Linked DNA regions of Homo sapiens: all the other regions are linked to region 1. Evidence: promoter capture Hi-C in 16 types of primary human blood cells and fetal thymus (Javierre and others, 2016). All regions are on one chromosome and are shown on one strand. The core of a region is centred on a gene start or on the middle of the fragment in contact, and the rest is flanking DNA. Distances in the headings are between cores, read along the strand shown. Region 1 holds the start of ENO4 (enolase 4). Region 2 has its middle 15 kb from the start of VAX1. Region 3 has its middle 4.7 kb from the start of VAX1. Region 4 overlaps PDZD8 (PDZ domain containing 8).

Region 1 (6,712 bases), core at 1-2,500:
TGATGGTCCATTACACACAGACAGTGAGACGTTCCGTAAGAGAGCAGAGAGAACACGGAGGAAGTTTGGAAGGTGCATGTCTGGGTTTGTGTAACAGTACTTATAGCATCACATTTTTATGCATCTGCACCCATACGTGCATGTATTGAAAATAACTGTGTTTCAAAGTGCTTTCTCACTCACTTCCTCATTTTGTACTAAGTGACTCGGGAAACAGGCAGAGGAGGTAAGATGATGTTTTCCAGAGGGGGGAAAGTGTGGCACAGATCTTGTAACTGATCTGCTTAGGTAGGAAACATAAACAGGCGTGAGTGGAACAAGAACACCCTGTCCGTCGCCGCCCACTCCTGCAGCAGAGGAAGTATCTAGAACTGAGGACGCACACTAAGTTCTGTAATCGCATGATACCTGGCAGGTACAATGAAGCCAGGAAGGCACTTCGGATTGAAAAGGGCAAGGACATAGGCAGCATTCTGGAGAGGGAACGTGAGCCAAGGCCATTCCCCCATTTCCGTTTTACCTCCCCAAGTCCTGCCTGAATCATCCCCCATCCTTAGGTCTGCCCAAACCACAACCATCCCTTAGGGTTCACCCCAGATATTTTCAACCCACACTGGTTTTTTTCATTCCATTGATTTCACCCCCACTAATATCCCAGAGAAGGGCAAGTGGCCGTTTCTCTCCTGGACATCATAGCAGGCCCAGCCAGCACACGGCTCGGCTCAGAGCAGGTAGTTAATAAACATGAGCCGAATGAAAGAATTCCTGAGATCGCCACCGCTCAGTAAGGATGCCCTGAGCCCCTACATCCCTCCCCCAACAGAGTGGGCCTGCCTGGCACGGGCGGCCTTAGCAACCCGGAGGAGCTCACTAACAGCAGAGAGCAAGGGGGCGCGTGGGGAGGGCGGGGTGGCCCAAGACGCTGGGCCACTGGGACCCGAGCGCGCGACCCCAGCCGGAATTCGGAGCTAAGGCTGCCGCGCTCCGGCAAAACGCGCTTGATGAGGTCGTTAAAGATTTCCCCCTCTGGAAAATCGCCAGGGAAAAGTGGTGAAAAACGAAGCCGGGAGGGCCCTAGTCTCGGGAGTCTAGGAGGAGCCCAACCCCCGGACCTAATGCCGCAGGGAGAAAAGACAGAGCAGCGAGCGCAAATACCATCCTAGCTCCAATAAAAGGGAACGACTTTTACCGCAGGAAGAACCTAGGCCTGGAAGCCACGCGAGATCTGGGGGTCGGGATCACGTTGCGTTGCCTAGCGACAGCAGGGACGCTCGTGGGACCCCAGGCTAAACCCCGCTGTAGCCTTAAATCTCCTACCATGGAGGAAGAAGGCGGCGGCCGCAGCTGTGGGACCACTAGGGAGCTGCAGAAGCTGAAGCAGCAGGCGATGGAGTACTACCGGGAGAACGACGTTCCGCGCAGGCTGGAAGAGCTGCTCAACTCCACCTTCTACCTCCAGCCTGCCGACGTCTACGGGCACCTGGTAGGGACCTGGGACAAGCGCTCTCCTCCCGCCAACCCCTCTCCCCCCGCCCCGCGCTGCGGCAACGCCTTGCGCCTGCGCCTGCGCCTCAGAATCTCGCATGCCAGCCGCCCGGGCCCTGGGCCTGCGTGTGCGGAGGAGACTTCTGGAGGGAAGGAGCGGGAAGGACACCCAGGGGTGAAGGGATCTCCCCAGAGAAAGTGGCAGAAAGGAGGCAGCTGGAGGAAAGAGGGCGCTAGGCGTATTTGACCTGCAGCGGCAGCCCAGGGGCTGGCAGGCTTCCTCGCTGCCTAAGAGGCCTCTCCGTTTGTGGGCCGGCCCACCGCCCATGCTTGCCAATTGTCATTTTTAACACATACCTTAATGCCCTCAGCTCAGCTCACCGACCTTAAGCAGCTCCTCTTTGATCACAGGATGAACACCTTGGCGTTTGCTACAACTTGGCTTCAGCCTATTCTGGGGCCTCATCCTACTGGCTCCTCTGCCGGGATGCCAGTTAATATCTGACCAGCCCCGCCCTAAACTCCAAAATTCAGACCAAAGCCTTGCCCACGTAGCCCTGGACCAACCGTCCTTCTGGGTTCCTACAGCATTTCCTTCGTGTATTGTAGTCTCTTGAGGCAGCCTCCCTAGGCAGCCTGTGAGCCCCTGCTGGGCTCAGAAGCCTTGTCTTCTCACCTTCCGGGTCTCTGCCCAGCCCTGAGATCTGGCACATACCTTAGCGTTAAGCAGTGAGCAGCTGAAGCAAAGACGTTTTCTCCCTTCCAGATCTATAAGTAGTAAGGAAGGCAGTGTGGCTGGGGCCCCTAGGAGTTTGCACTATGGCAAGGCAAAGCAAGGAGGCAATGTGAACACCAAGCAGAAGGAGTCCTATGAAGAGGCAGATGTGCTGTCAGGGTGCAAAACCACGTCGTATTGAGGCAGTTGATATAAAGGATGTTCCGCGAATGACTTTTTCCCACTCATGGCCTATACTATCAAAGGGGAGAGGTGTGGGGTTTACTGAGCCCCTTGTGCTGCGTACTGTAACTCAATCCTCAGTACCACTGCGACGAGGTAAAAATGATGATTCCCATTTTACAAATAAAGAACCTGTGGCCAGTGCAATTTAAATGATTTTCCCAAAGGACATAGTGACAGAAGAAAAAAAATCAAACCACATTTGTGTCCCTAGTACCCAGCAGAGTGCATGGCACACAGTGGATGCTGAGAAACTACCTGCAGGATGAATGAGTGAATGCTTGACTCTCATTCCATTCTCTTCCTACTATCTGTTGCTAGAGGAATTCTTGAACACAATCTATTCTAACGTCCTCATTTTACAGGGACACCAAGTCTTTGTCTCACAGCTACTTAGTGTACAAGCTAGGACTAAAAACATGGACTCTTGTTCCCCAGTATAATGATCTTCTTATTCTATTAGGCAGCCAGGATATTCGTTTGTACAGCTCTCTGGGAACTTACATCTTAGTTTGGGACAAAAGTCACTAATACATAAAATAATTGGAGCAAAAGATAAGGTGATAGATGACTGTGTGCTAGATTGAGGGGCAGATCCCTATATGCCTATTAAAGGAATTCAGGGATGGAAAAGATCCTTGGAGGCTGTATATCCAGGAAGGCTTTGGCTTGGACTTCGAAGGATGTTCAGGAATTGCAGAGGCAAAAAAGCAAACTCCTTGAACCTGGGAATCGGAGGTTGCAGTGAGCCGAGATTGCACCACTGCACTCCAGCCTCGGCAACAGAGCGAGACTCCGTCTCAAAAAGAAAAACAGAAAAAAGCAATCTCCTTTTCCTTTTCTTAGTAACTGCCCTAGTTTTGGCCGTGCTTACTCTCACCTCGTCTCTCCCTCTATCTAGTTCATCCTGCAGAATGCTGCCAGAGCAGTGTCCTAACATGCAAGTCTGACCACACTTCTCTTCCTCAGAACCTCCTGTGGCTTTCCCGTGCTTGCTGGCCTTCATGTGTGTGGTTCACAGTGCTCAGCCCCTCCCTCTGGTAACAGGCGCATCTCCCACTCCCTGCCCTCCTCCTCTACACCGAATCACTGACTGTTCCCCAAAGCCAGAAGTTTCCTACCTCCCTCCTCTTTGCTTGTCCCATTCTCTCTCCCTGAAATATCTGCTCACCACATCTCCCCCTTGACTGGCACTGAAACACTATACCTCCTCCAGTGTTCAGCTCCAATGTCATTTCTTCTGTCCCTCTCCAACATTGATATGGCTTGGCTCTATCCCCTCCCAAACCTCATCTTGAATTGTACTGCTCATAATCCCCACATATGACATGTGGGGAGGGACCGGGTGGGAGGTAATTAAATTATGGGGGTGGTTACTCTCATGCTGTTCTCGTGATAGTGACTTCTCATGAGAGCTGATGGTTTTATAAGGGGCTTCCCCGCTTCACTTTGCACTTCTCCTTCCCGCCCTCATGTGAAGAAGGATGTGTTTGCTTCTCCCTCCACCATGATTGTAAGTTTCCTGAGGCCTCTGCAGCTGTGCAGAACTGTGAGTCAATTAAACCTCTTTCCTTTATAAATTACCCAGTCTCAGGCAGTCCTTGATAGCAGTGTGAGAACAAACTAAGACAGACATATTAGAGGAATTCACACATGGTAAAGATCCTTGTAGGCAATAACAATACAATTTATTCCATCATCATAAAACTGAATGAGAGAGTTTTGGACTGGGAATGTGGCAGATCTGGTTTTGATTCTTATCTCTGCCACTTCCTCACTGTGATAGAGTTACACTGATGGTCCTCCAAGAAACTACACTTCCAGTGTGAACACCTTTTTGTAAGTCCCTCCCACACTGACTCTGGAATTGGCTATGTCACTTACTTTGATCAATAGGACCTTGACAAACACGATACAAACAGAGAGTTGATCAGTGCTGGCATATGGAAGCTTGTCCTCTTGGAATCTAGTCATCATGCTGTGAGGATGTCCCAATTACCCTACTGGAAAGAGTGAGGTTGTGTAGAGAAAGACCTTGGCAGATACGAGACCCCTCAGGATATCCTGTGAGAAAGATAGATGCCCAGCCAACCCCTCACTGTGCCAGCCATCCCAGCTACGGCACTGGACATTGAGTGAAAACAGCTTGGATATGCTGGCTCCTGTCAAGCCTCCAGATGATTACATCTGCATAAGGGACTCCAGAGAAGCCCAGCAAAAGAATTTCCCAGTTGAAGCCCCACCCAGATTACAGGACCATGAGCAAGTTAATGGTTTAAACCACCAAGGTTTGGGGTGGTCTGTTACAAAGCAGTAGATAATGGCCGGGCGCGGTGGCTCACGCCTGTAATCCCAGCACTTTGGGAGGCTGAGGCGGGCGGATCACAAGGTCAGGAGATCGAGACCATCCTGGCTAACACGGTGAAACCCTGTCTCTACTAAAAATACAAAAAATTAGCTGGGAGTGGTGTCGGGCGACTGTAGTCCCAGCTACTCGTGAGGCTGAGGCAGGAGAATGGCGTGAACCCGGGAGGCGGAGCTTGCAGCGAGCCAAGATTGTGCCACTGCACTCCAGCCTGGGTGACAGAGTGAGACTCCGTCTCAAAAAAAAAAAAAAAAAAAACCAAAGCAGTAGATAATGAAAACATTAGCTAAGTGATCTTGGACAGTTAATTTTTGTGGAACTGTCTGCCCATCTGTGGGATGGAGATGATATCACATAGCTTAGAGAGTTGAATGTAATGACATAATGTATATACAGTGCCCAGGGATGTCACTGACATTTATTAATTTATACGAGATTTAATTTATAGAATCCTATATATGTCAGGCCCTGTGGTTTGAGATATAGTGATAAAGAAGTCATTCTTTCACAGCCCATATTAAGCACTTCAAAAATGTTAGTTCCTTTCCTCTCCTAACACAACACGCGGCACATTATAGGTGCTTGGTGCTTGTTAAACTGAACTCACTATAACACACAGAGTGTAAGCTAAATAACATTTTTGCTCTCCTGATTCTAAATTCATTTAGGCACTTACTCTGTAACATACAAACCACCATTTAAAGAATCCACGGATAGCTTGAAAATGAGCTCTTGCTTAATACTTCTGGGGCCCCACCTCTGAACTGGCATGTCGCTGTGGGTATTAGATGACCTGTTGTCCAGGTTGAAGTCACTGGATTTTGAACTGAAAGATCAGAGACCTGGTGTCTGCTAAATGAAAGCAAAGCCCAGTCCTATCTGGTAATCAAGAGAGCAATAAAGGTGTGCCTTCACCTTCCCTCCTTCTAGTCTCTCCTAGCTCCTGCTCCTCTGCACAGAAACACCTTCCTGAGCGTTTTCTTGCAGGCTTCTCGAGTGGGCTTTCTATCTCAGCTTCTCTTTCTTCAGTCTCCTTCTTAGATCACTTCCAAATGGCTTCTGCTTTTCCACCTCAATGAAACTGCAATTACTAAGGCTCCCAACAAGCCTCCTTGAACACATAGGACTATGAATGAGCTGATGGTAAGATACAGCCGTCACGTAAGTCTTCACCACTAAAATATCACGTGCCTTGCTGGGAGGAATAAAAATGAGCCCATGTGCCGGGCGCGGTGGCTCACGGCTGTAATCCCAGCACTTTGGGAGGCTGAGGCAGGCGGATCACGAGGTCAGGAGTTTGAAACTAGCCTGGCCAACATGTTGAAACCCCATCTCTACTAAAAATACAAAAGAATTAGCCAGCCGTTTTGGTGCACGCCTGTAATCCCAGCTACTCGGAAGGCTGAGGCAGGAGAATCGCTTGAACCCAGGAGGCAGAGGTTGCGGTGAGCAGAGATCATGCCATTGTACTCCAGCCTGGGTGACAGAGTGAGACTCTGTCTTAAAAAAAAAAAAAAAAAAATTCAGCCCATGTCAGGTTTCTGAAATTTGAATGCGTCATGGTGTTCTAGAGACCAGTTGGTTTCTGTATCTTGAAACAAGGGGGCTGGGCACAGTGGCTGACACCTGTAATCCCAGCACTTTGGAAGGCTGAGGCGGAAGGATTGCTTGAGGCCAGGAGTTTGAGACCAGCCTGAGCAACATAATAAGATCCTGTATCTACAAAATGTAAAAATTAGCCGGGTGTGGTGGCGTGTGCCTATGGTCCCAGCTACTCGGGAGGCTGAGGTGGGAGAATCACTTGAGCCTGGGAAGTTGAGGCTGCAGTGAGCCGTGATGGTGCCACTGCTCTCCAGCCTGGCTGACAGAGCAAGACCCTGTCTCAAAAAAAAAAAAAAAAAAAA
Region 2 (6,685 bases), core at 2,006-4,505, 270 kb after region 1:
ACTGGAGGTCATTACGTTAAGTGAAATAAGCCAGGCGCAGAGAGACAAACTTAGCATGTTCTCACTTATTTGTGAGATCTAAAAATCAAAACAATTAAACTCATGGAGCTAGAGAGTAGAAGAATGGTTACTAGAGGCTGAGAAGGGTAGTCGGGAGCAGTGGGGCAGGTAAGGATGGTTAATGGGTACAAAAAAAATAGGAAGAATGAATAAGACCTAGTATTTGATAGCACAACAGAGTGACTATAGTAAATAATAAATTGTACATTTAAAAATAACTGAAAAGAGTATAATTAGATTATTTGTAACACAAAGGTTAAATGCTTGAGGGATGGATATCCCATTTTTCCATGATGTGATTTTTTTTTTTTTTTTTGAGACTGAGTCTCGCTCTGTTGCCCAGGCTGGAGTGCAGGGGCGTGATCTCGGCTCACTGCAACCTCCACCTCCTGGGTTCAAGCGATTCTCCTGCCTCAGCCTCCTGAGTAGCTGGGACTACAGGCACCCGCCACCACGCCCAGCTAATTTTTTTGTATTTTTAGTAGAGACGGGGTTTTACCATATTGGCCAGGCCGGTCTCAAACTCCTGACCTTGTGATCCGCCTCCCTTGGCCTCCCAAAGTGCTGGGATTACAGGCGTAAGCCACAGCGCCTGGCCCCATGATGTGATTTTTACATATTGCACGCCTATATCAAAACATCTCATGTATCCCATAAATATATACACCTACTATGTACCCACAAAAATTAAAAATAAAAAAGTAAAAACAACAAATCTATGGTTTGGTAGAAGAAACAGAACCTAGTGTTAGATAGATGAGCAGGGTGACTATAATTTACAGTAATCTATGGTATATTTCAAAATAGCTAGAAGAAAAGACAAATATTTCAGGTGATAGATATCCCAAGTACACTGATTTGATTTTTTTTTTTTTTTTGAGACAGAGTCTTGCTCTGTTGCCCAGGCTGAAGTACAGTGGCACGATCTCAGCTCACTGAAACCTCCACCTCCCAGGTTCAAGCGATTCTCCTGCCTCAGCCTCCCTAGTAGCTGGGATTACAGAAGTGTGCCAACATGCCTAGCTAATTTTTGTATTTTTAGGAGAGACGGGGTTTCCCCATGTTGGCTAAGCTGGTCTCAACTTCCTGACCTCAGGTGATCTGCCTGCCTCAGCCTCCCAAAGTGCTGAGATTACAGGCATGAATGACCATGCCCATTTACAAATTATATAAATGTATTAAATTATCACAGGTACCCCAAAACTATGTATCTATTATGCATCGATAAAAAAATTGTTTAAAAAAGATATTATGAAGATCAAAGGAGATTACATGTATAATCTCCTATAATCTATATTTTGTGTACATTTTATAGCTATAGATTACGTATACAATTCTAAATTTTGGGCCAGGCGTGGTGGCTTACGCCTGTAATCCCAGCAATTTGGGAGGCCGAGGTGGGAGGATTACCTGAGGTCAGGAGTTCAAGACCAGCCTGGCCAACATGGTGAAACTCTGCCTCTACTAAAAATATAAAAAACTAGCCGGGCATGGTGGCACACGCCTGTAATCCCAGCTACTTGGGAGGCTGAGGCAGGAGAATTGCTTGAGCCCCAGAGACGGAGGTTGCAGTGAGCTGAGATCATGCCACTATACTCCAGCCTGGCCGATAGAGTGAGACTCTGACTCAAAAAAAAAAATTATAAATTTTATACATGTTTTATATACAGTCATACCTCAGTATGAATGGGGGTGGTTTCCAGGAACACCCCCATCAGAGGATGTCCAAGTCCTTAATGTAAAATGGCATGGTATTTGCATATAGCTTACACACACCCTCCTGTATATTTTAAATCATCTTGGCTGGGTGCGGTGGCTCACGCCTGTAATCCCAGCACTTTGGGAGGCCAAGGCTGGCAGATCACGAGGTCAGGAGATCGAGACCATCCTGGCTAACACAGTGCAACCCCGTCTCTACTAAAAATACAAAAAATTAGCCAGGCGTGGTGGCAGGCGCCTGTAGTCCCAGCTACTTGGGAGGCTGAGGCAGGAGAATGGCGTGAACCCAGGGGGAGAAGCTTGCAATGAGCTGAGATCGCGCCACTGCACTCCAGCCTGGGCGACACAGCAAGACCCCATCTCAAAAAATAAAAATAAAATAAAAATAAATAAAGAAATAAATCATCTCTAGATTACCCATAATAACCTAATACAATGTAAATGCTATGTAAATAATTGTTGTACTGTATTTGTATTTACTTTATTTTTTATTTTCATATTGCTATTTATTGTTTGTTTGTTTTGAGACATGGTCTCACTCTGTTACCCAGGCTGGAGTGCAGTAGCATGAACACTGCTACTGCTCATGCAGCCTCAACCTATTGGGCTCAAGTGATCCTCCCAACTCAACCTCCCGTATAGCTGGAACCACGGGCACATGCCACCATACCCAGCTAACGTTTTTATTTTTGGTGGAGACAGAGTCTCATTTTGTGGCCCAGGCTGGTCTCAAACTCTGGGCTCAAGCGATCCTCTCACCCCCACCTCCCAAAGTGCTGGGATTACTTGTGTGAGCCACTGCACCTGGCCCTATTGTCTTTTAAAATATTTTCGATCCATAGTTAGTTGAAACAGGTATATGAAAAAGTGCTCAACATCAGTAATCATCAGGGAAATGCAAAGCAAAACCACAATGAGGCATCACCTCACATCTCTTAGGACAATACTTTTAAGGATATATTTTCATGACATGACTTATGAAATCCTAGGGACCCAAATAAGCTGTCCTAATAAACTAACTTTGTGATTCCAGTCAATCAGTCCAACAAATGTTAAATTGTCTACTATGTACCAATCTAGGAACAGCAATTCCAACAGTAAAAACAACTTCAAGAGAACAGTGAGAACTCTCAACCTCTTCATATACTATTAAACTTAAGAAAAATAATAATTAAAGTACTTTATTACATTTTTATACAAGGCAGTTTAGCCAATGCTTCTACCCTCTTAGGGAAGTTCTGAGAAAGGTGACTCTGCCTCTGACTCTTACAATTCAAGAGAAAAGTAAGAAGATAATCTGATTGGTGAGCACTACCATTCACTGAACCACTACATGGGTTGTTTTGTTTTGGAGATGGAGTTTCGCTCTTGTTGCCCAGGCTGGAGTGCAATGGTGTGATCTCGGCTCACTGCAACCTCTGCCTCCCGGGTGCAAGCAATTATCCTGCCTCAGCCTCCCAAGTAGTTGGGATTACAGGCATGTACCACCAAGCCCAGCTCATTTTATATTTGTAGTAGAGATGGGGTTTCTCCATGTTGGTCAGGCTGGTCTCAAACTCCTGACCTCAGGTGATCTGCCTGCCTCGGCCTCCCAATACGTGGGTTCTTTAAAAGGCAGGGGTTCTATCCCTTTCCACTCTTCATTTTCCCGTTCTCTACCTGTGACTAGACAGGTAAATTCAATTCCAGAAGAGACAACTTTGAGACAACTTTGAGAGCCATTTGATGCCACTTAAATTTGGAACCCTATGTGGCACCTAGTTTGCAGTTGATTTGAGACAGAAAGAAAAGGTAGTGAGTAATTAACACCCCTTAACTTCCAATAATGACATAAGTGACCCCTGACCTTGGGGGTCACCCAACATCTACCTACATTCCAAATTATCTCTACCTAATTTTGCATGCTTGATTACTGTTCCTAATGTACTGCCAGAGTACTCTTAAAAGGATTGCTGGCCAGGCACGGTGGCTCACGCCTGTAATCCCAACACCTTGGGAGGCCAAGGTGGGTGGATTGCTTGAGGCCAGGAGTTCGAGACCAGCTTGGTCAACACGGTGAAACCCCATCTTTACTAAAAATACAAAAAAAAATCAGCTGGGCGTAGTGGTGCATGTCTGTGATCCCAGCTACTAGGGAGGCTGAGACACGAGAACTGCTTGAACCCGAGAGGCAGTGAGTCGAGATCACATTGCTGCAGCTGCACTCTAGCCTGGGTGACAGAACAAGACCCTGTCTCACAAAAAAAAAAAAAAAAATTGCTGGCCAGGCACGGTGACTCATACCTGTAATCCGAACACTTTGGGAGGCCAAGGTGGGAGGATTGCTTGAGTCTAGAAGTTCAAGACCAGCCTGGGCAATACAGTGAGACACTGTCTCTACAAAAAATAAAAAAATAGCTGGGCATGGTGGTGCATGCCTGCAGTCCCAGCTACTCAGGAGGCTGAGGTGGGAGGGTCCCTTGAGCCTGGGAGGTTGAAGCTGCAGTGAGCCATGATCTGCACCACTGCACTCCAGCCTGGGTGACAGAGCAAGATTATGTCTCAAAAAAAAAAAAAAAAGCCAAACTTCAGATGTGTCACTGATGGTCCTGACTCTAACCTGGGGGTTAATGAGCCTCAGGCAATGAAAAAAGTGGACCCTGAATTCAGAGGAAAAGCTTGAGGGTAGAGCACATTTGACAGTGAAGCAAAACTCAGGAGTTAAGCATCATGTTCAGAGTGGTATACCAGTACTCAGAAAAATAAAGTTCAAATTATAATCCCTTCACTGACACATTGATTCTCCATGTCTCAGGCTCTACATCTTTAAAACAGGCTGCACTTTGCTTTTCTCATTGAATTACTCTGTAATCCCACCACTTTGGGAGGCCGAGGTGAGTCGATCACCTGAGGTCAGGAGTTCAAGATCAGCCTGGCCAACGTGGTGAAACCCCATCTCTACTAAAAATACAAGAATTAGCCGAGCGTGGTGGTGGGCACCTGTAATCCCAGCTACTCAGGAGGCTGAAGCAGGGAGAATTGCTTGAACCCCAGAGGCAGAGGTTGCAGTGAGCTGAGATCGCACCACTGCACTCCAGCCTGGGCGATGCAGTGAGACTCCGTCTCAAAAAATAAGATAAAATAAAAGTAATAATTCTATTTACAGATGAGGATTCTGACTGAAAGAAGTTATTTGCCTAAGTTCACATGGCCAATAAAAGTCAAAGGTGGAATTCAAAGCCCAAGTTTTCCTACTATTGCTATATTGTGGGGGTTAAGGTGATGACTGGGATACCTGCTGCGGGAACCTTGCCCCGAGTTACTTGGAAACAGCTTCCTACTCTGCCATGACCTGCCCAGGCTAAGAAAAATTGCTGAGCCAAACATGGACCCAGCTCCTTACTCAGAACCTAGGGAAGCAACCTGGCCTCAAAGCCACTTATATTTGTCTCAGAATTGCAAGAACCCCTCCGATGCTGGCAGACATCACTAATGATCAGCATACTTTTCCACGGAGGCCTCAGAATCCTCCACAACTTAGTATCCCCAGGCAGCTACCATCAAATAATTCAACTTAGCACTAGAGTTGAACTTATTTGCCACCCTCCCACTGGTCTCTGAACAGAGACGGTCATAGGCAGCTCAGGGAAAGAGGATCTTAAAACGAAAATAATGGTGATGTCTAGAAACAAATGTTGGCATTAATGTGTTAACTAACTTGTTTCTCATCCCATCACTGATGAGACACCTACCTACTTTCTATCCTCCCCACCTGCAGCTTAATCCCAGACCTCGACACCAATCTGTTTACTAACCTTTCTCACCTGTCGGCACCCATCTCATCTTGTAACTGGGCTTTCCTCCCATCGTTACCCTGCCCAAAACCTCCCCTTCACCTACAGAATAGAGATCTTTAGTTTGGTCTTCAGGCCCTTCCTTGACCAGGCCACTTTGCAAGCCTTATCTTACACCTCTACTCGATGTGAGACCCCCACCTCCTTCACATCATTTCCTTTTCTTTTTCTCTCCCCTCCGTTTCTCCCTGGGATGCCCTGGTTAAGAACCCAAATACCTTCTTGATCATCTCAGAATTCTACAGGCTGTCTGCCCATCCCTGCCAATAATGCTCCCACTCCACTGTGCTTACTTTCCCTCGCATCAGCTGACAACTAGGACAGAAAACTGAATTTGCCTTTAGCTCTTCCCGGGAAGGGACTAAGCCAGACCCTCAGTAAAATGGGCTGATGACCTGACTTTCTGGCCACCGATCTAACACATGGCAGTCTTATCTAACCCATGAGACGCAAGGGAAGGAAACCAAAACAAAAACCTGGCACTCCGTCCGTCCTGTGCACCCTTAGCAAGCCCCTCAGCCCCCATGCCGCTGCTTCCCTCAGTGCAAGAAGCCGGGGGTCAAGGGCGTGGGTCTGGAGGGCGGAGCGCTAGGTGCTGGCAGGGGCCTTTCAGGGGGCGCTGCCGCCGCTTGACGTCACTTCCCGCCGCTCCACTGCCTTGGGTCACAGCTGGCGTCTTAAGGGCCGGACCCAGGAAGGTATTTTCAGTCCCTATTTCTGCCCGTGCTGGCAAGAGAGCACGGGAGCCGGACTCAGCGTGGGTCGGGGCCCTGCCGCTAAAACCGTCAAAGCAGGCCTAACTTACCACTTTCCTGGTGAGGCCCCGGCCTCCGTCGACGGAAGCTGTGGGAGATGGGCTGCGTGAGGTGCCGGGTCCAGGCTCACAGGAGGAGAGCTCCAGGAGTCCCTAGAGCGCCAGCCCTGCCTCCTTTCTAGCCCTAGCACCTGGCCCTCGCCTCGCCTCCTAGCACGCATGCCCCTCGCCTCGCCTCCTAGCACGCATGCCCCTCGCCTCGCCTCCTAGCACGCATGCCCCTCGCCTCGCCTCCTAGCACGCATGCCCCTCGCCTCGC
Region 3 (6,717 bases), core at 2,656-5,155, 290 kb after region 1:
GAGGAAAGGGGTTTTTTAAAGGGGGTGGGTGGGGGGAGAGGAGAGGTGGGAGGTTTGGCTGAGAATTTTTCCACACAATTCCAAGAATGGGGCGGAGGCGGGGGGAGGGGAGGGGGTTGGGGAGGGGGTCGCGGCGAGCGGGTGGGAGGAAGGCCGGGAGGGGGAGGGGTGCGAGTGTGTGTGGCGGGCCCCTAGGGGCTCCAGCTCGCAGCGACGCGCGCACCGTCCGCACCTCCCGCCCCGCCGCCACCTCCCCTGCCTCCGCCGCCACCCCGCGGGACCCCTCTACCGTCCCAAGCCAGGAGGGGGCCCCCTGAGCGGGGTCTTTCGCGCTGTCCACCCAGCCACCCCTCCAGCCACTTAGGGGCACCCAGGTTTGGCCCAGCTCCGGAGGGCATCTCTGGCCCTGCAGGCCGACATCAGGCTTCCACTTTAGTTGACTGGGCGGAGCGGTGGAACTGTCCCGAGCTACTCTCCGCAGGGCGGCGGGTTTCCAGGGTCCCCAGCGGGCTGATCGCCCCTCAGCCCGGCTTCGCTGCGCACGCTGCCCTCGAAGTCCGACGCCGACTGGGCGCCCGGGGAAAGTGCCTTTGATTACGAGCTCTGCTCCGGCGGGTTGGTGAGGCGGGTGGGAGCAGAGACGGGTAAGAGGGGTAAGGGACTTTGCGGCCACCCTGTTCTGAAGATGTAGAGTGGGATTGTGTTAAAATCCGGCGAACTCTCCTGTTACCTCCCGCAACGCTCAAAAGCCCAGACTGGCGCCTTGAGGCACCGAGGGCTTTGCTCCCATGCGGCCAAGCCGTCGGGGGTGCAGCCGCCGGGTCTTGACTCCCACTACCGCGTCGCGGGTGCGGGTCCCTGGGATTCGGGTCCTCCTGATGGGGGTCCCTGCAGCAGATGGGGCATTCACTTCCCTGCAGAGCTCGGCCCGAGGGAGCTCCTGGGCCTCCTTGGGCAGGGAGGGGTGCGACCGAATTCCCTGGCACACCGGCCCTTCCTTGCCCCCTACCCTGGAGGGGTTGGAGGGGTCGGACCCTCGGACTACGCGAGATCGGGTGCGCAGGAGGATTCTAGGCCTTCCTCAGCCCTTTAGGAGCCCTGCAGGCGGCGGAAGTCCCAAACCGCAGCCTTGGCCCAAATGGGACCCAGATGGCTCTGGGTCCCCGGCCCGGCCGCACCCCTCTGTACGGCCTCCTTCTGTCGGTGAAGGCCGCAGCGGCCTGGGAAACCCATGCGGACACCTGCGGCGCCCGGTCAAAGACCTGGAAGAAAGCTTTTTAAAAAATAAAAATGGCCCAACCCATTACATTTTCTTTTAGGTAGATGGGGGAGCTGGGGGGCGGGGCGGGGGCAGTCAGGGAACAAACAGCTGCCCTTAGAAATGACACGCCCTGTGGGCAATGGCGGCGCTGGGACGTCTGCAGCCGCATTCACTGCCACAGAGAACGGCCAAAGTATGGCCAAATCCCAAATGCAAATTTTAAGTTTGGCCTCGGAAATTTCTGCCCTCCCTCATCTTGTGGCATATTTTGTTGTAAGGGGGAACTATTTGTTTGTTTGTTTGTTGTTTGTCTGAGACGGAGTCTCACTCTGTCGCCAGGCTGGAGTGCAATGGCGCGATCTACGCTCACTACAACCTTCGCCTCCCGAGTTCAAGAGATTCTCCTGCCTCAGCCACCTGAGTAGCTGGGACTACAGGCGCGCGCCACCACGCCCAGCTAATTTTTGTGTTTTTATTGGAGACAGGGTTTCACCATGTTGGCCAGGATGGTCTCGATCTCTTGACCTCGTGATCCGCCCGCCTTGGCCTCCCAAAGTGCTGGGATTACAGACATGAGCCACAAAGCCCAGCCTGTTTGTTTGTTTTTTAAACTTACTTATTTTTGAGACAGGTTCTCGCTCTGTCGCCCAGGCTGGAGTGCAGTAGCACCATCACGGCTCACTGTAGCCTCGAATTCCCAGGCTCAAGCGATCCTCCCACCTCAACCTCCTGAGTAGCTGGGAGTACAGACGTGAGCCAACGTGTCCAGGGGAATTATTTATGAAGCAGTCACTTACTGGATGCATAAACTCACTTAATCTGAACTCCTCCTTCAGAGATGTAGTAATATTCCGGTTTTATAGGTGAAAGAATGGAGACTCAGAGAGACGTTCAGTAACTTGCCCAAGTCACACAGACTGGTATGAGCAGAATTTGAATTGACTTCTGCCTGACTTCAAAGCTATTTATGCTCTTCTTTGCCACACCCCACAAGACTGCCCCATTTTTAGTTCCAAACCCATACTTGCTTTGAATTTTCCAAATCTTCAGGTGATCATGTGTGTATCAAAAAGACACAGAGCAATGACTTTAATGTTAATGCGAGGAATCCTTATTATTAGACATCAATTTTCACAAATTTTATCTAAACAACAGTAAGTAGAAATGGAATCATGAAATTCTTGTTTCTGATGATGCTATTTATTTCTGGCCATGAGCATTTATTAGGAGTTTATCACTCATCTACTAGCTGATTGGGGGTGAGTAAAAAATCATTTCCTGGGTTTCAAACTTACAGAATGATCATCTGAGAGCAGTGTCCAGGAATTTGCATTTCTAGCTGGCTCACCAAAGGATCTTTCACAAATTGAGTTAGATAACTTCACCTTTTAAACTTCGGTGACTCTGCTAAGCTTCCTGCGGGCAGGGACTTCCATCCCTCCCTCCTTACTGGACATGAAAATGCTTATTGAGGAAAGGCATAAAATGGGATATTCTGGCTGGGCACAGTGGCTCATGCCTATAATCCCAGCACTTTGGGAGGCTGACGTGGGCCGATCGTTAGGAGTTCGAGACCAGGCTGGTCAACATGGCAAAACCCCCGTCTCTACTAAAAATGTAAAGATTAGCCAAGCATGGTGGCACGCACCTGTAATCCCAGCTACTCGGGAGCCTGAGGCAGGAGAATCGCTTGAACCTTGAAGGTGGAGGTTGCTGTGAGCTGAGATCATACCACTGCACTCCAGCCTGAGTGACAGAGCAAGACTCCATCAGAAGAAAAAGAAGAAGAAGGAGGAGGAGGAGGACGAGGAGAGGGGGAGGGGGAGGGGGAGGAGAAAATGGGATATTCTGGGAAAACAACGAATTTAATTAAGCAGACATTTACCAAGAGTTTGGAGGTGCCAGGACCCAGGTAGCCCCTAAGGCATACAGGGCCTCATCTCTGCATCATCATAGACAAACCCAGTAATTAAGAGAACTCACTGGCTTTAGGTTAGTCATGGCTTCAGGTTGGCAGCACAAATGAAATAACCAAATTAAAAAAGAAAGTCAACTCTTAACTTGGTTTTGCTTTTTGTTATACATGGTACTTTTTTCTTTTTTTCTACTCCCTTTCTTCCTTCCTTCCTTTCTTTTTCATTTCTTTTTTCTTTCTTTCTTTCTTTCTGTGTGTGTGCGTGTGTGTGTGTGTCTGGATTAAAATTCTGTGGGCATCCATCCAGAAAAACCATGACAGGTTTCTGAGAGGACACAGTGGAGGACGGAAGCCCTGGGATGGAAATTTCAGAAAAGCAGCTGCTAGTCCCAGAAAAAAACTAAAGCTGTGTGCTCACTGGCAAAGAAAGAAGAGAACTCAGTCAATTATTTGGATAATCTGAGACAAGCCTGTACTGCACAACACACACAAGGACACAAGGCTGCACCAGGTGAAAGTGTTTTATTCTCTTGACTAAATTTGCCGCCCTCCCCAGTGCCCTTCCTGCCCCCACATCACTGTCTGCAGGTGCAGACAGACCCAGAATAGAACTGTAGCACTGGAAGGATTTTTAGAGATCATCTATTCCATAACCTTCATTTGACTTGACAGATGAGAAAAATGAGCCCAGAAAGACAAAGCAACTTGTTAAGGATTAGACAACTAGTTAGTGGGGGCCTCTGTGCTACATTCCTGGTCTCCTGACTCAAAGCTACATTCCCACCTCCACCCAGGCTTCTTGAAACCCGAACAAGATGCACTGTCTGGGGTTGGGTGAAATGATGCCATCAAAATGAGCTAAATCACAATCTGAGCTTTGGGGATGCTTTTCATATTCCCTGCCCCCGCCTACTTGCTTCCAGTCACAGAAAGCAGGATCCGAGGTGGCACAGAGTGCTTTCCTTTTCCATCTTCACTTTTTATTTCAGAAAGAAGTAGGAGGGGACAACTTGCAGGCAGAAAAAAAATCTGAGATTATCCTAGATTATGAGCGGTTTAGGGACAGCATAACTTAATGTCTGAGACACCATTTTAAGAAGGACTGCATCAGAAGAGATGATACAATCAGAAATTAAGTTTCTGTAACAATGAATCAGGGTACCTGATAACAATAATTAATTAAAGGGAAGAACACTTAGCATTTATACAGAGACTTTCATCTCTAATCAAAGTTGCCAGTGGTGATGAATTCAATCTCATTGAATTATCACTATTCCCATTTCACAGAAAATAGTCGGGATATTGGGGAAGCACTTGAAATAAGAACCAATGTTGACTATCCAAAGTGGAAAATGCAGCCATATATCCAGATATTTCTTACCAATTATAGCTAGAGTATTAGCCAATGTGTAGACAGCTAAATTCTGAATTATTCTGTCTACAAGTCAAGCAAAAAATCCCATTGGCCTCCATTTCTCAACTTAGCATTTTGTACCAAGAAACTATTTCATCGATTACATATACATTTTGTACTTGGAAACATCATACAATTTTAGAGTTAAAAGGAACCCCATTAATTCTATAGGCTCACTTATTCAACAAATCATACAAACATGGGTTTTGGAGTTAGTCAGGATTCCTGATTTATAGATCCATACCCCAGGTCCCTTACCTGTTAGGCATGTGGCTTTAGCAGGTCAGTTTCCTTCCCTGTGCCTCATTAGTCTATCTGCAGAATAAGGTTAGCTTTGATACTGTAGGGTTGTTATGTAACAAAAGTGCTTAAAACAGTGCTCGACACACAGTGAACACTGTCAATAAATATTTGCTATTAGAGTCTTTATTTGAGCATCTCTTATGGAGCCATAGAACCCGGGTGCATTGTGTTAAATAGAACCAGAGATACCAAGAAGGAACTAAGAGTCAACCAAGGTAACTGATTGGTCCAGGTACTCCATGGCAAAGCTTGATTGGCTTCATACTTATTCAATACTGTAAAACAGTAATGAACAGCTTGTGCTTATTAAGGACTTACTGACTAGCATTATCTCATTTACTTCTCATAACAGCACTTTGAGAAAAGAAGAATTATGTATACCCATTGTGTTGAATTAAAAATAGCTGTAAATCTTTTGCCATACTTCCCATCAAGAGGTAGAGTCTATTCCCTTTTGCTGAATTAGGTGGAGCTTTGTGACATGCTATAATCAATAAAATGAAGTGGAAGTTGTGCTTGTTCTGTCTGGGGCTAGGCTTTAAAGAGGTCTGGTAGTTTTTGTTCTTGCTCTCTCATAGAACCGAGCTGCTATGCTGTAAGGAAGGCAGTCTAGACTGTGAGAGGAAAAGAGGCTACATAAAAACTGAAGCACCCCGGCTGACAGCACCAACTTCCATTCATGTGAATGAGATCATCTTTGATGTTCCATTTCCAGCTGAATTCAGCCTTATGAGGGTTCGTGATAATACCATGTGAGGCACGGATGAACCACCCATGCTGAGCCCTGTCCAAATAGAATCTGGAGAAAACATAAGGTGGTTTTGTTTTAAGCTACTAAGCTTTGGGTAGGTTTGTTATACAGCAATAGGTAACTGAAACATCCATATTGTGAATGAGAAACTGAGGCTCAGAAAGGCTAAGCAACTTGTCCATGGTCAGGAGCTAGGAAGTGAGACAACCTAGATTCAAACCCAGGACCATCTGACACCAAAAGCCATGATCATAACCAGCGAACTACACAGTGCCTCCTATGGAATAACCAAATTCTGAAGAATAATTCACAAATTAAATTTTTGTTCTTTCCTTATTTCAGACATTACCTAATGTAGGCTGAACTAATAAAAATCATAACATGTCAGTCTTAAAACCATAAAGAATAAAAATGTTAGAGTTAGAAATGAAGGGTCGGGCATGGTGGCTCAAGCCTATAATCCCAGCACTTTGGGAGGCCAAGGTGGGAGGATCACCTGAGGTCAAGAGTTCGAGACCAGCCTGGCCAACATGCTGAAACCCCTGTCCCTACTAAAAATACAAAAAAAAAAAAAAAAAAATAGCTGGGCATGGTGGTTCATGCCTGTAATCCCAGCTACCTGGGAGATTGAGGCAGGAGAACCGCTTGAGCTGGGAGGCAGAGGTTGCAGTGAGCCAAGATCGAGCCATTACACTCCAGCCTGGGGAACACGAGCGAAACTTCATCTCAAAAAAAAGAGAAAGAGAAAGAGAGAGAGAGAAAGGAAGGAGGGAGGGAGGGAAGGGGAGAGAGAGAGAGGAAAGAAAGAAAGAAAGAAAGAAAGAAAGAAAGAAAGAAAGAAAGAAAGAAAGAAAGAAAGAAAGAAAGAAAGAGAAAGAAAGGAAGGAAGGAAGGAAGGAAGAAAGAGGCAAAAGTGATCTCTGCCAAGATCTCACCTCTTGAAATTGAAAGGAGGCATCTCACTGGAAGGTGGGTACAGACCTCTAAATTTTCTTTCTGTTTTTCAAAAACAAAGATGAAAATGAACACGTTCTGCTCTCACCTTTAGGAAACCAGAGATACATTAACACTTA
Region 4 (7,154 bases), core at 3,915-6,414, 490 kb after region 1:
CATCCTTTACTAAAATGAACTAGGCAGCTAGTCATGGTGGAACATGCCTGTAGTCTCAGCTAAAAATAAAAAGAATTGGGGCTCTTTGGAAAAATAGTTGTTCTGGGACCGTGGCAGAGAAGATAGAAGATAAATGCAGAACAGCTTGTTACATCAGAAAGTAATGAAGTCTAAAAAAAAAAGACAAAAAAAAAGATGGGGTCATATCACACACAGGATCCATCTTGAGGGGGTTCCTACTGGCCAAATCTGAGACAATTTAGACACCAAAATAATTAAGGACAGTAAAGAATTATAACCATTGAGAAAAATAAAAATTCATGGGTCAATGGTGACAATAAACTAAGAATAAGGGAAGACTCTTGGTAACAGAATAGAATGTCAACTGCTGTGGTTTTCTGTATTTGTGTTATATTTAACATTTAAAACTTAAAAAAAAAAAAGATGTAATATTGAAATCCAGTGAGACCAAACACCCTAGCTGGGCATGGTGGTGGGCGCCTGTAGTCCCAGCTACTTGGGAGGCTGAGGCAAAAGAATGGCGTGAACCCAGGAGGTGGAGCTTGCAGTGAGCCGAGATCATGCCACTGCACTCCAGCCTGGGCCACAGAGTGAGACTCCATCTCAAAAAAAAAAAAAGTAAGATCTAACTAATCCGTAAAGTTTCCTTTGTTGTCTTAGCTGCCAGAAAATTGATCTCTTTTCCATGTTTTTGATCTAATATATCTTCTGCTTAAGTATACATGCTTACATGTTTTCTTTGCAAAATATCTCAAATATCTTCTATCCTTCAAGACAGAAGATAGACTATAAATTATAAATTTAAAAATAATCATCTTAACAATCTGATTGCAACACTAATGTGAAATAATTTCACCTACTAGCAGTACGACAAACAGCCATTGCATTCATCTGTGGTTAAAAAAAATCAGCTTTCATCAACTCAAAAAAACATGCAATTGTTCAGAATGACTGCTTTTTAAAAAATACTTGACAAAAGCAAAATGTGAAAACCAATTTTTACACATAATACTGCCTTTCCACCCTCAAGCTATTGCTTGGGAAATGCGAAACAGTATTTCAGATAGTTAGGAAAGAACCTCCCTTTACAATATGAGACCTTTTTAAATTAATAAAATTCAAATTCCAATTCTCACAAACAAATATGCAAGAAAAAACATGCCGTTTTTTCTTCACAGATACTGCAACGATTATCTTGAGACATAATAATAGAAGCTACATCTACTGTAGGTATCCTATGTGGTAGGCATTGTGGGTAGTTGCCTATCTCTGATTACAATTACCAGCAAAGTAGCTCCCTTGCCCATTTCACAGATGTGTAACTTGCCTAGTGACACTATATAAGGGCATATGGCTAGATTGAATTCAGTGCTTTCTATAACTCAAAAGTCTATGTTATTCCACTATATATGAAGTAATAAGCATTTTTTTGGTCCTTCTTCCAAAAAGAAAGCACTGTTATTTGTGCTTTCATTTTCTCTAGTGCCTCTTTTTGCTTCAGGAATTAGAATAAAACACACAAGCTGAATTTATATTCAAAATGAGATTAACTATTGAAATAAAAATGCTTAGGTTACAGTAATATGTCCTCTTTAGTTTGAATCCTATAAACTTAAAATCTACCTGAACAGAGTTTTCTGTTTTTATACTAAGAAAAAAGTTTACAAGAAAAACAGTAACGTTAAGTTTTTAACGGAAAGAATGTTAGGACTTAATACGAAGACAAAAAAGCAGGAATGAGTTGAGACTTACTCTTGCCTTCATACACAAATAATTCTTAAACTATGTAAACAATAACACAGTACCACAACACTGAGTAACTTTTACATGCTTGGATTTGTAAAAATGGCACAAGGAAATCTCTAGATAGTGTACTTGTTCCCAAGATGAATCTATCACTTGGGGAAAGGTGCTGGCTATATAACCTAAGCCGACAGTTACATAACTTCAGATATTAAAAAAACTATTTTTCCATGTTTTTCCCTTCAGCCTAATTATGTACTCTCTAAAAATACTGGACCTTAATTTTTGACCAGGTGATAAATAAAACAACATAAACAAGTTTATAGTGAATAGCTGGGCTATCACCTTGACCCCTGTCCATCATCATCAACCCAGTTCCTTCCCTGTATACCCCGTAAAAATTCTTATTGGTTTCTCACTTATCCTTTCAGAGATTTATTACACAGTTCCTTATTAAAATAAAGTTGGTTACAGGTACTTCACACATTCTAATGCTTTTCTTTTCATTTATCTCAACATGACCTAAAGAATGTCTGGCTATACTTTCTCAATGCCTTACATGCAGTCTTTGATTCCTGTAGCAAGGCTTTAAGTGAGCAGTACTGCAGGTAAAGCAAAAATGTGGTGAGCAAAGCTGACACCAAAGCTAGTGGTTAAATAGCTACAAGCTAACAGACATATAATCAATACCTAACCCCACCAGCAACATTAAAGCAAATGAACTAGTATTTTCTAAATACCTAGCATAGTACCTATTATATGTATTTTACTGTACACTGCAGTTCCTTTTACAAAATAGACAACATATTTAGTCTTTTTTTGATTTAAAAAAAAAGGGATTCTTTGTCTACCAGGCTTTCTAACATAATGATACACAATCCTGAGTCACCCTGGACTTAACCAAAAAAAAAAAAAAAAAAAAAAAAGGATTAAGTATATTATTAGTATACTCAAAACTAACCTAACCATTAGCAAGGACACAAATGTATTAGATATAAAATATAACCTGTGTGCTCAAGTACTTAATTGTATTATGGGTTGGAAATAAAAGTCATATGTACCAAGTAAGTGGTACAAACAAGTGTCAAAGAAATGTAGCCGGAGGATAGTATACTTGTACTTGGAATGATCAGGAGATACATTAAGAAGGTAGCTTTTGAACCAAACCAAGAAAGGTTGGCTTCATGGAGCAGAGAAGGGGGCCAAGAAAGCAGCAGCTAGTCAACACAATGGGCTTGGTGCTTTAAAATATTTAAGTAGGGAATGGCAAACTACAGCTTATGGTCTAAATTCAGTCCACTGCCTGTTTTGTATAACCTGTGGGCTATCAAGGGTTTCTATGTTTTTAAATGGTTGAAAAGTATCAAAAGAATATTTTATAACATATGAAAATTACAAAATTCATATACAAAGTTTTACTGGCACACAGCCACATTCATTCAGTTACACATTATCTGTGACTGCTTCTGTACTGCAAGGCAGAGTTGTATAGTTGCAACAGAGAGCATGTGAATCACAGCCTAAAATGTACTATCTGGCCCCTTAGAGAAACAGTCTGCCAACACCTTGCCTTGGGAAGGCCTATGTAGCTGAAGCACTATGAATGAGGGGCTGGGCGGAGGATGGTGAGACTGAAGCTGGAGAGCTAAGAGGAACCTGTGTGTCATGGTGAGGATTTGGGTCCACATCCTAAGAGTAATGGGGAAGCTGTTAAAGAGTTTTAACTAGGAGACTGACAATTAGATTTGCATTTTGAAAAGATCATGTTGGTTGTTATATTGGGGACCAGAGGACTAGGAGATATGAAGGCTAGTATAGTAAGTAGCTCAAGCAAGATATGAATATAGCTTAAACTTTGGTGCTGGCAAAGTAAAACAAGGAGGCTAGGCAAGATTATTTCTGAGATCGCTTCCAGTTCTAAAACGCTAAAAATCCACAGTGGTTCAAAGTCTAGTTTTGCAACTTTCCTGAGTGTTTCCAATTATCACAAACAATTCTCAAAACCGTTTTGATAGGTGACAAAGATTCTTTGCCAGGCCAAACTTTACTGAGGTTTCTGAATCTTCTGCTAGGCCCATCTGTCCAGTTTCAGCAAAGAACTCTGCGAAGTCAGTTTAGCAAGAAACCCCTATCCTTGATATCTGATCGTCCTTTACCATCCTCCATGATGTCTGATCACCCTGGACTGTTTTTAGCAAGAATCCTGTTAGGTCGGTTTAGCCAAAATCCCCTTTACCCTTGATGTTTCCTCTTAGTAAGTTTCCATCCACTGATCCCACATTGCTTCTTGGCTATAAATTTCCACCTGCCCATGCTGTATTCAGAGTTGAGCCCAATCTCTCACCCACTTCAAGACCTCACTGCAGTGGCTGCTATACTTATCATGATGGTCCTGAATAAAGACTTCCTTACTCTGCTTTAATAAGTATCATTGAGTAATTTTCTCTTTAACATAGGAACAGCTCCCCAGTAGGTAGAATAAGTTAAAAATAAGCCAACAGAGCACTATGCATCTAAATAGTGTCAGAATGACTACAGAGTAAATGCCTCTCCCTCCATTAAAACACTTTCTAAAATATGATTTATATTTGTTAAAGTTAGAAAGGACTACTTTTATGATATTAAATTTACAATTAAAGAATTTACAGGTAAATAATATAATTTAAATGAACACACAACACAAATACTGCTTAGGAATATTTTCACTGCACTGTTCTTCCCGTAACTTAGTAATGACAAAACAAAGAACATACCTGCTACATTCTAACAACGTAACTTTAAGACGGCCTTCAGTAAGTGCCCATTGTTGTATATGGATATGCTCTTCATCTTCTTCAAATCCTTGCAAGGTCTGGTATGGAAAAAACGGCTTAAACCTGACAAAAGTAAAGATAAGTCTAAATGTCTGAATAATAAACACCACAGTTTAAAGCATAACAAAACTCACCTGTACAAAAACACAAAGCAAAATGAACACCTAATACTACACGTGCTCTACAAAACCAAAGCTTACCACACTCCCCCATAACTGGCAGCAAATGGTGCCTTCGCTATGGCACCCATAAGTCTTGGTTTTTTGGTATGCCCCCATTGATAAGGCAAGAGAGAACAAAGAAAAGAAAAGCCTAGAGGCAGCAAGTAGGCCATGAAGTTTAGGTGGGGCAGGAGAGAGACTGTGAACCAGATGGGAAGAGTGTTCCTACGGTACAAGATCAAAATTCAGAATGCATGTTCCATGGAAATAATATACAGTCCCCTTGGCATCCATGGGGGATTGGTTCCAGTACTTCCCAAGGATACCAAAATCCCAGGATGCTCAAGTCTCTAATATAAAATGGCCCAGTATCTGCATTATACACATTCTCCCATATGTTTTGAATCATCTCCAGATTACTTATAATACCTAATACAATGTAAATGCTATGTAAATAGTTGTTAAGACTATATTGTTCAGAGAATAATGACAAGGAAAAAAGTCTGTACATGTTCAGCGCAGATTAAATTTTTAAAAAATATTTTCAATCCACAGTTGTTTGAATCCATGGATGTGGAACCCATGGATGTGGAGCCCACGAATACAGAGAGCTGACTATTACAGACAGTGATTAGTACATGATAAAGATGACTGTAATAGCAACATCAATAACAATTAACACAGCAGAGATATTCATTAGAGATGTTTACTATTTGCCAGGCAGTATGCTAAGTGCTTTTTACATGCATTATCTTATTTAATGCTCACAACCCTGAAGAGGGCAATATTATTGGCTCCTCTCTCCAGATGAAAAGAATGAAGCTTAGGAAGGTTAACAAGTTTGTTCAATTTTACAAAGTGAATGGCAAAACCAGAATTCAAGCTAGTCTAATTCCAAAGTCCAACTATATAACACCTCAGTTACCTATGAATTATCCAGGCATTCATATGCTCATCACTAATATTGTTGTTTTTATGGAGAAGTTTGTGCTGAGTTATAAACTGTAGGTTTTAAAAAACTTTTAATTTAAAACACAACTCATACTCCTCCATTAAAGCTAAAGAAAAAGAAAATGAAAGAAAATTGGGCTTAAAGCCCCGTGGTTTTCAATTCACCCTACACATTGTCACTAGCCATGATATCTACTTGCTCAGAAAGTTTTAGTGGCTTCTTACTGACCACACAAACAGATACACACACACACACACACACACACACACACACACATAGTCAAAAGTTCTTGGTTTCACATTTAAGGTCCACCACAATTAATGTTCCTTTTTTATTTTTTCTTGAGACACAGTCTTGCTCTGTTGCCCAAGCTGGAGTGCAGTGGCACGATCTTGGCTCACTGCAACCTCTGCCTCCTTGATTCAAGCTATTCTCTTGCCTCAGCCTCCCAAGTGGCTGGGATTACAGGCATGCACCACTATACCTGGATGATTTTTGTATTTTTAGCAGAGATGGGGTTTTGCCACGCTGGCCAGATCAGTCTTGAACTCCTGACCTCAAGTGATCTGCCTGCCTCGGCCTCCCACATGGCCTCCCAAAGTGCTGGGATTACAGGCCTGAGCCACCACACCCAGCCCACAATTAATCTTTCTAATCATATATTCTCTTAATATAAACATTCCAATCTAGAAAGTCACCTCATATGCCCAGAAGACACTATGAATATTCCTGCCTTCAGGCCTTTCATACCAACTGGAAGTTTTCCCAGATTCCTCAAAGCCTGTCCAAATCCTCCCCTCTTTCGCACTCGGCCATACATGCTGCTTTCACTCTTCTCTATCTTGCAGTCCTCTAAATTGCGTGCATTTATGCCTTAAAATGTCAAATATGACTTAGTCTCACAATTCTCTGCATCCATCATCCATACCTGACGGGATGTTTCACACACTATCAGGATTTGAGTATGTGTTGCGCTGATTTACAAAGAGTTAACACTAAAACTGAAATAAACACTTAGAAAATATCAATGGCCTACTATAGTTTATACTGAAAGACACTAATAGAGGGGGTTAAATGCTGTTTTATGTTTTCCCAGTAAGTAAGATTAAAGAAAAAAATTTTAAGGAAATGTTAAGTAGGGACACAGGCGATGCTCAGTGGTTTTCTCCTGTTTCTAAACTAGTATGGAAAGCAGAAAGCCCCCCGAGTTTCTCCCAACTAAAACGCTAATTTGCATTTGAAGTCATTTGATTCAGACAGACTGGCACCAAATTTTTAGAGGGAAAAAAACTAGTAACTAAATTTATATCAATATAATGTTGTAGCTGGGTGCTTTTAACACACAGTCCTTATGACTCCTGAAAAACATATAACTGTTAGTTTGTAAAAAAATTATAATAACCATATACACTAGAAACTTTGAATTTAATAATCCAAGTTAGCTAAATCACAACTGCTCTAAGA

The links. Contacts are between HindIII fragments. The CHiCAGO score rates a contact against its expected background, and 5 or more counts as called.
Region 2: a contact is called between a fragment that was not itself captured here and the fragment with the promoter of ENO4 in region 1, in 1 of 17 cell types (endothelial precursors). The highest score is 6.4, in endothelial precursors.
Region 3: a fragment that was not itself captured here is called in contact with the fragment with the promoter of ENO4 in region 1 in 6 of 17 cell types (endothelial precursors, monocytes, M2 macrophages and 3 more); the score reaches 10.2 in endothelial precursors.
Region 4: a contact is called between a fragment that was not itself captured here and the fragment with the promoter of ENO4 in region 1, in 1 of 17 cell types (M2 macrophages). The highest score is 5.6, in M2 macrophages.

The regions. Positions count from the first base shown.
Region 1 is chr10:116,848,249-116,854,960 of GRCh38, forward strand. It overlaps ENO4 (enolase 4), which reads left to right and starts at 1,251. Exons shown (of 14, transcript NM_001242699.2): 1 at 1,251-1,483. The coding sequence starts at 1,319. It also overlaps a transcript of HSPA12A not described here. RefSeq lists an enhancer at 1-67. The HindIII fragment of the contact is 7,314 bases long and covers 1-4,391 here.
Region 2 is chr10:117,119,890-117,126,574 of GRCh38, forward strand. It overlaps a transcript of SHTN1 not described here. Among named protein-coding and RNA genes, the nearest start is that of VAX1, 15 kb to the right of the region's middle. RefSeq lists an enhancer at 6,264-6,685. The HindIII fragment of the contact is 2,358 bases long and covers 2,077-4,434 here.
Region 3 is chr10:117,139,566-117,146,282 of GRCh38, forward strand. No RefSeq gene overlaps it. Among named protein-coding and RNA genes, the nearest start is that of VAX1, 4.7 kb to the left of the region's middle. RefSeq lists enhancers at 288-874, 875-1,460. The HindIII fragment of the contact is 2,468 bases long and covers 2,672-5,139 here.
Region 4 is chr10:117,336,463-117,343,616 of GRCh38, forward strand. PDZD8 (PDZ domain containing 8) reads right to left here. Exons shown (of 5, transcript NM_173791.5): 2 at 4,518-4,640. Among named protein-coding and RNA genes, the nearest start is that of PDZD8, 35 kb to the right of the region's middle. The HindIII fragment of the contact is 788 bases long and covers 4,771-5,558 here.